2 separate regions of the Homo sapiens genome follow, and region 1 is linked to region 2. Evidence: promoter capture Hi-C in human tissues and cell types (Jung and others, 2019). All regions are on one chromosome and are shown on one strand. The core of a region is centred on a gene start or on the middle of the fragment in contact, and the rest is flanking DNA. Distances in the headings are between cores, read along the strand shown.

What was found. Contacts are between HindIII fragments. The study calls those that stand out against the background at their distance.
Region 1: a contact is called between a fragment that was not itself captured here and the fragment with the promoter of KCNT2 in region 2, in 2 of the 25 tissues and cell types used here (adrenal gland and liver).

What each region holds. Positions count from the first base shown.
Region 1 is chr1:196,444,126-196,447,968 of GRCh38, forward strand. All of the region lies in intron 8 of KCNT2 (potassium sodium-activated channel subfamily T member 2), which reads right to left. Among named protein-coding and RNA genes, the nearest start is that of MIR4735, 140 kb to the right of the region's middle. The HindIII fragment of the contact is 3,543 bases long and covers 1-3,433 here.
Region 2 is chr1:196,606,450-196,610,364 of GRCh38, forward strand. It overlaps KCNT2 (potassium sodium-activated channel subfamily T member 2), which reads right to left and starts at 1,991. Exons shown (of 28, transcript NM_198503.5): 1 at 1,766-1,991. The coding sequence starts at 1,860. RefSeq lists an enhancer at 2,326-2,842. The HindIII fragment of the contact is 13,382 bases long and covers 1-3,915 here.

The DNA of each region.
Region 1 (3,843 bases), core at 412-2,911, 160 kb before region 2:
GTATACCTATGGAGTGTATGTGTGGGTCTACAGGTATGTATCACATGACCACATGCATGTTCATAGCCTCCATGCACATGTAAATATTTCTTCATATAAACTTTTCTGACTTTAATATTAGAAAGAACTTACACTGGTTTTCTGAAGCTCACTGTGATATCAGAAATCCGTTTCTAAATATACCTTTACTCCCTTCCCAGTAATACAATAATACAAAAGGTCAATCGTTCTAAGAATTATGTTTCCCTTTTTCCTTTTTTTAAGGCTTAACTTTCAAAAACAAGCAAGCATAATGCCTATTCTGCTTTCCTTTGAATTTATATTTCGTCGTCCTCTCATCAGTTTACCTTAAAAAAAGGGAATTCTTGATAGGAAAAGTTTCAACATCGTGACCAGTTAAAAACAAATTCTACTGGTTATAAAGAAGATTTAATAAAATTTTTCATCAAAAAGTCAACTGTAAAATGCATTACTCTGGTGCAGTATGATCATAAACAAAAGCATTTCGAGTAGGGCAAATGTGAATAGATGAGGCCAGTGAAGAAAGCAGGGACAAATTATAAATTATTTCATATACAACACTAAGATATTTGCATTACCCTGAAGACTCTAACAGCACAAATGAAGAATTTTAAGCAAGAGAATGAAATCATTTGGGAAGTGTTTGAGGTCATCAGTAAATCAATATCTACTGATATTGTGAGTGGTTCCTACTGCCCCAAGCAGCAAATATATTTACACTAAACTATTAGTCTCAGGCTGAAAATCACTTTAATACTGCCCATGAAAATCACCCAAGTGAATTTATAGCTCTAACCAGAGCAAATAATAGATACAGAAATGCTACTAAATTCAGTCTAAAAGGATTTTCTAAGTTGTGAGCCCTTTATTCTCTACAACCTACTTTTCTTTTTGCTTAAATTTATTTTACTTATCTCATTCAGCCCTTAAAAGTAAAGTGTATATCCAAGAAATAATATAGAAATATTAGCTTACACACTATTTCCATTATATGTTTAAAGATATGTTCACAGATTTGATAAAAATAAAATAATATATGTATACATCCCATCTTCTTTACTATCAAGAAGTTAGTAAGATTAACACTCAATTTAAATGTCCTTGCACATGTGAAATATGAAATAGGACCAAATAAATATCAGCTAATTTAAACGATTTGTACACATTTATTGCATTTCCAAAAGAATATCTTGCTAGCTGCTGCCAGATAACAAGACCAAATAGTCTCTAGTCAACATTTTCTGGAAATTAAATGAGGCACAAAATAAGCTTTGTTTTATTCTATCAGAAATGGTCCAAATGTAACCATTAAAAATAAAAGAGAAAGTACAGCTTAACATGTCTCTTCACATTGTAAGCAATGAGAATTACTCTCACAATAAGACTGACTCTTATTTTTATGTAACTACTTATTTGAATTCAATTCTTAAAGTGTAATATTAAAATATCATGTTCATCAACAGAGAAACTTTGTCATAATGATAGCCCTTTCAGTTTCATAATAAGCTCTGCTTAAAATCAACTGAAAAATTTCTCCCTTCTAAGAGATGGTTAATGAACTTATATCCATTTCATGGACTATAATATTCATAGATAATTCTGTAATATACAAACATAACCATATGTGAGTAACAACACTGTTGAAAGGAAGCTGAGCAGTCCATGAGCATTCAACTAACCTTTCTGTCAATGGTACATTTAATTGCTTATAAGCTAGTATCAAATACATCAGTATCTTTACAGAATGGCCTCTTAGACCAAAAAAAAAAAATTACTGCAAATTACAACTGTTTTCCTGATCAATGATATTTGTTCAAAGAGCAGTGTCAGAAGGTCAATGACACATTCTAAACTAAAGAAAGTTACTGGAAAACATAGTCTGTGTTAGCATTAACCTAACGGACATTGCTCTTATGACTTTAATTTTTAGAAAATTTGTCAGAGACTTAGCATATCAGATTCTTTAAACTCAAGGAGATTAAGGTAGGCAATAATATTGCAATTAAGATGCTACCATTCAATAAAAGCTTCTACTCTGTATTTTTTTCAAAACACATGACAAAAAAATTAAGCAAAAGATAGATTTCTTTAAATCCAACATGTACAATAAATATACTATTCTCTATACTTTTTCACTCCATGAGACGCATTCAACTAAAAATAACATTTAACGGTCATTATTCTAATTGTCTTTATCTTCATTCTTAGCAATTATCAATGTCATAGAATAACAAACCCATGATGACACTGATGAAAAGTATGGAGCAAGCTGTGGAACCACAGCTTACTGGTTGGGAATAACTGATTGATCTAGTCCAACTCGTTTCTCTAAAGAAGCAGCATCTTAGGGCAGTAAGGGTAAAAATCTTGACCAAGATTCACTCTACTCATAGGAGGTAGCCCTAGAAATACAATAAAGCTTTTCATCAATTACCCCCAACTTTGTGGAAGTTAAATAAGCCTTCTCTGTGAAATCTTTGAAATTAGACATATCTTCATTTTTGAGATATATCAATTAGGAAGAGAGCCAGTTACCTACAAGTACTTTGTTTATTCAGGGGCTGTATTCTAAGTCCACATTTAAAACCTAGTGAACTAAACCAGTAATAGTTATTAAGCTACTAATTAACTAAGACAAATGTTCCAAATAAGATGAAATTTAACTAAGCTATACTGTCTTTCCTAAGTGAAAAATTTGTCTACTGTGTCTTCCTTCCACTTATGTAATGTAAAAGAACTCACTTAATATCACTCTTTTTACTACCACCTGTCTTTACCCATTAGAAATGTAGATCTATAAAGTTTTGATCCCTGTTTTAAATATTTGTTGCAAGGTTCAAAACATGGCTAGTATGAAAAGAATAATATAGTTCATTAATTGGCCTTCATTGTTAATCGCTTTGGATGAAATTGAACTTAAAGTAAAATCACTGTTTCACTGTTTCATTTTTTCTTTCTCTTTCTTTCCATCTTCAATGAAATATTTTGCCTCAAATGTATGATAAAAACTCAGTTTCATTTCCAGAACATATTTTATGTTATCAAAAGAAAAAAACTGTGATACAAGCAAATGATCGAAAATAATGGAAAACATGTATTACAGAGCAGTTGGTGGTAGATGGTGTAGCAATATTTTTAAGACCCTGAACTGAGTTGTCAAGAAAGATTTCTTTAAGTATTTGACATATAAGCCAAGACCTAAAGGAGGCCGAAAGCTAAGTAAAGAACATACAAGGAATCAGAAACATTTAGTTCAAAACCCACACGTCAGGAATCATCATAACATCATCAAGGAACAAAAAGAAAGCTGTGGTGAGGAAGCCTATTGAAGGAGAGAAAGTACGATGTAAGTTGGGGTCAGAGAGATAAGCATTATAAGGGAGCAATTATGTTGAAGACAGACCAGATCATCCAGGCAAGAGATAATGGAGCATAAAAGGAGTAGTGACAGTGCAGAGCTGGATGTAAAGATTTGGGAGGTAGAGCCAATAGGGCTTATCAATGGATTGAATACTCAGTGTGAAGAAAGGGGAGGAGTCCAGATATGCCAAGTTTTTTTCACTTCTTTTAAGGGATAGGGTGAATAGTGGAGTAACTGACAGAGAAGATAGACGAAAAAAGTTGTCTGGAAAGACAGAAGAATTAACAACGTTTTTTTGGACTGCTGCAGTTATCAGCTTCTAGATGATCTTGAAATCCGTCTACCTCTATGAGCATCTAGGCAGATAGAGAAGTCAGGCCACCGAGAGCAGGAAGAGCCTTGAAAACTTTCTCTCTAACTCTTACCAAAGGTCTGGAAAGAGAATGATATTAGGAAAAGTT
Region 2 (3,915 bases), core at 741-3,240:
GTGGCCTGCTTTTTAAGTTAAAGTTGGGCTAGCATAACCTTTTAATAGAACATAAAATTTTAACCATTCTGCAAAACTTTTTTAATATGGCACTGATCCATTTAGGCAGTGTTCAACTAACCAAAATTCTTAATTACTAAAATATTTCTGCAGCATCCTTAGAAAAATGAGGGCAACCACATGAAAATTAACATATTGGATATGATATTTAAAACAAACAAACAACAATACCATCACTATAACCAAAGTATGTGCTTTATGTGTTTAATCTATCTCACACTTTCTACAAAGAGGATTTCTATTCTATATAATGATCCTGAGGTCCTGAACTAAATATACATTCAGTCACTAGGAACACCATGCTACACTTACTAAGCCATTTAACCAGGCTAATGCAGTTTATCTAAATGTCAATTTGTATTACAAATTCACTTAAAAATTATTTTCTTTATCTTCAGTTTACCCAAACACTTTACAAGAATACTGAGAAATTGGTATTACTTCTTTAAATTTTTAGCCAATATGTGTGGTTTTGCCTAAAAAAGAGATTGAACCAAAATATCCTCTACAAAACATCCATCTCCTTTCAAATTACTAATATGAGACCAAACAAGATGCCCATAATTGATGCTCAAGATAAAATCCTCAGTGTGTAGAGACAGGAGTTGGTATTGGGAGCTGAAAAGGTGAAGAAAAGAAATAGAGTGTATTGGTCAGTGGTGAATGAGGAGGGGATTTTGGATTGGACCAATAATGGATCTTTTATATAACTAAAATAGCACATCAATACTAAACTAAACTTCAATGAAACATTTCAATTGAGTTGAGAACCTAGTTAGTATACATGTATTATTTTAAAACAAAGAAATGTGGCATGTGATATATGGGATGACTATTCCAGAAAATACTAAATTCGCTGAAATACAAAATGTGCTTGAGACAGAAATAGACAGAGGAATTTCAGAAGTTTGTGCAAAGCAGTAATGCTATAAATAAAACACATGAACAATATTTTGCTAACAATAAATATTCTAGTTTTGAAACTTAATTTTAATTTTGAGACATATATTCTGTTTCAGTTAAAAAAATATACTAGTTATGAAAAGGTTGTATCATGTTATACAAACATCATTATTCATAATGGTCAGAGTCACCTGTTCAAAGTGAGTATATTGTATTAAAAAGGTTGTCATTTTCACTAACTACCTGTTACATATTTAAACCAATTGTCTACTTAAAACTCCAAAATGTTTAAACAGCATAAAATTTCCAGTGCCAAGTAGATACCTACTCAAGACAACACAGACAAGGAGGAGGTAAATAGACTCAGGAGATTTTAAGTTTCTAATGTGCTTTTTCAAACAACTTGCATGCAATTTTGAGTTTGATTAACCACACCTAAGGAAAAAATGCAAATTTTCTGGAAATGATATTGCATACCATTTGGGTGTATTGTACCTCTGATACCAGCCTTATACACATCCTAGAAAAGCACAGATAGACAAAAGAATAAGCACCAAATGAATGCAATAAATACCTTGCAAGAATAAGAAAAGTGTAAAGAAAAAGAGTTCCTTATCTATAGCAACAGTTATATAGAGTCAAAATGGAGAGACAAATCAGAGTCTCTTTTACTCCCTCCCCCAGCCTAGTCTCCCTCTCTGGCTCCGTTTTCCTTTTCTCCCTCCTTTCCCCACTTCGGCCCTCCCATTTCCGTCTCTTTTTCAGCAATATTTACAGAACAATCCTCCACCACACCACTCACCTGTCGTCGTTTTGCCATCCTTGGTCCCCTAGCAGCAAATCTCGAAACCTGTACCTGGGAGGCAGAGGGGGCACTTCGCTCTCCAAATCAACCATCCTTCCTCAAAGAGTGGGAAACATCAAACAACAAATGGAGGAGAGGAGGGAGAAAGAAAGAAAATATTGCGGAGTACAGGGAGAGGACTAACAAGACGCTGTGGCCGAGAGAGGGATGGGAGAAGGGGAAGGGGACAGGGAGGGGGAGGGGGTCCGCTTGGAGCCGGAAGCTAAGGCTTGAAAGGGGGCTGGCTCCTCTTTCCCGAGGGTGTAATGGGGATGATGCAAACCCAACCCAGGAGCAAAAGTCTGGCTCTGACAAGAATCAACGCTGCCAAGGAACCGCCCCCAGGCTCGGCACCGCCTCTGGTCCCCAGGACTAGGGGGAGGCGGGTATAAAAAGTTACTTCGCCGAAAAAGACGCGCGGTGCCTAGAAAGAGGGGAGAGGGGTGGGAGTGAGCGCCGCTTGATGGTGAAGCACTTTCCTTAAAGGCAGTTGCCAGATCCTCCCAGAGGGCAGCCTCCCGGCTACTGTTCCCTCGGGCGGGCTTGCATCCGGCACAGCCCTGAGCTGGCGGGAATCGGGGGCGGTGGGTTTCGGCCCCAGACGCGGCCAACCCGGCTCTCCCCGCAATCTCCCTGTGGAGATGGAGCTGGAGGCCCAGCCAATGAGACTCCCCCTCATTAGCATAGCACAGTGACGGCACGGGGGTGCCTTGGGGACAACCAATGGGGGCGAGCTAATTAGCGGATTGCGGGGCTCCAGACCCTTCTCTGGGAGGAGGGGGGCCAGGGTGCTTGGAGTGTTCCACTATGCCACGAGCTCCCTCGCTTTGATTGCCTTCAGTCCAGGTGGGCGGGATGAAAAAATTGCACGTTTCTGGAAAGGGAATCCCCACTCTCAGCCCCAGGAAAATCCCATTTTTTTCTCACATTCTGAAAGAAGGGAGGTGTTTCCCTGAACTCGGGGAAAAAGAAGGGCCACCTTAGGCCGCTGAAGAGAAGCATTTAGATGACAGGGAAAGCACATGGAAACGCACTGAGGATTTTACAGTGGTGAGTTGCTGTTACTGCTGTCGCTGCTACTAGCAGCGTTGTGGGCTTCCAGGTGGCCTGGCCTCAGCCTTCGGTCCCCTCCTATTAGTGGTTCACACGGAGGAAGAAGTGAGCCCGAGAGAACAGGGTCTGTTTTTCAGTAAGAACCACTGCTTACATGAACCCTGCTACACAAGCTATGGTTCTATTTGCGCTTACCGTTCTTTCCTTCAAAAACTGATTGCATCAGAGTATATACAGACCGAATACCAACCACCTGACAGCCTGGGCCGGAGGATAACCATATGGCTTCTCCTGCCCTTACTTAAGAACCGCTCTGTGTGGAGGAACAAGCTTGTTCCTTGATAAATGGATACGATGTGAGAGACAATAATCAAAGAACATACAGAGGGATTTGGAAATACCTGTGAGGTACACATACTTCTTCGAGGTGGGGGTCAAGGAAGACATTGAAAATGAACCAAGCCTTCTATATTCGTTCGCAGCCTACTTTAGGGAAAAGAGCAAAGGTGAAGCAAGCAGAGAGAATAGTATGAGTAGAGGCATAGGGATTTTTTAGAATATTTGGCTTATCCAGAAAATAGTGATTAATTTGGCATGATTAATGCTCAGTAGAGGTCATGTAGCAGAGGGTTTATTTAAGAAGCTAGAAATGAAGGAAGAAATTACCAAAACTTGTAACATCAAATGAAATACAATGACTACTGAAACCTGAAGAATAGCAGTTGAAATAAAAGTCATACTGTTTGTCTCTGTCTTCAAAATCCTACTCATCCTTCCAGACCCATCTCAAATTACATATCCTCCATTAGATTTCTTGGTTTTTCCAGCTTCTTATGATGTCTTCTTCCTTTGAACCCCTTTGTTTGAACCCTTCATAACCCATGTGAGTATTTTGCCTGGAATGCTTACTATAACCTGACCCGCTATACGATTATCTGTGCGTTTTTCTTTCAACTCTTCCCCTCTCCCTGTGGCTTAGCTGCCTCTAGCACGGGACCTTCAAAATAGCCACATTTCAACAAATAGGTGTGGAGTTGCATTAAAAGCTATTAAAT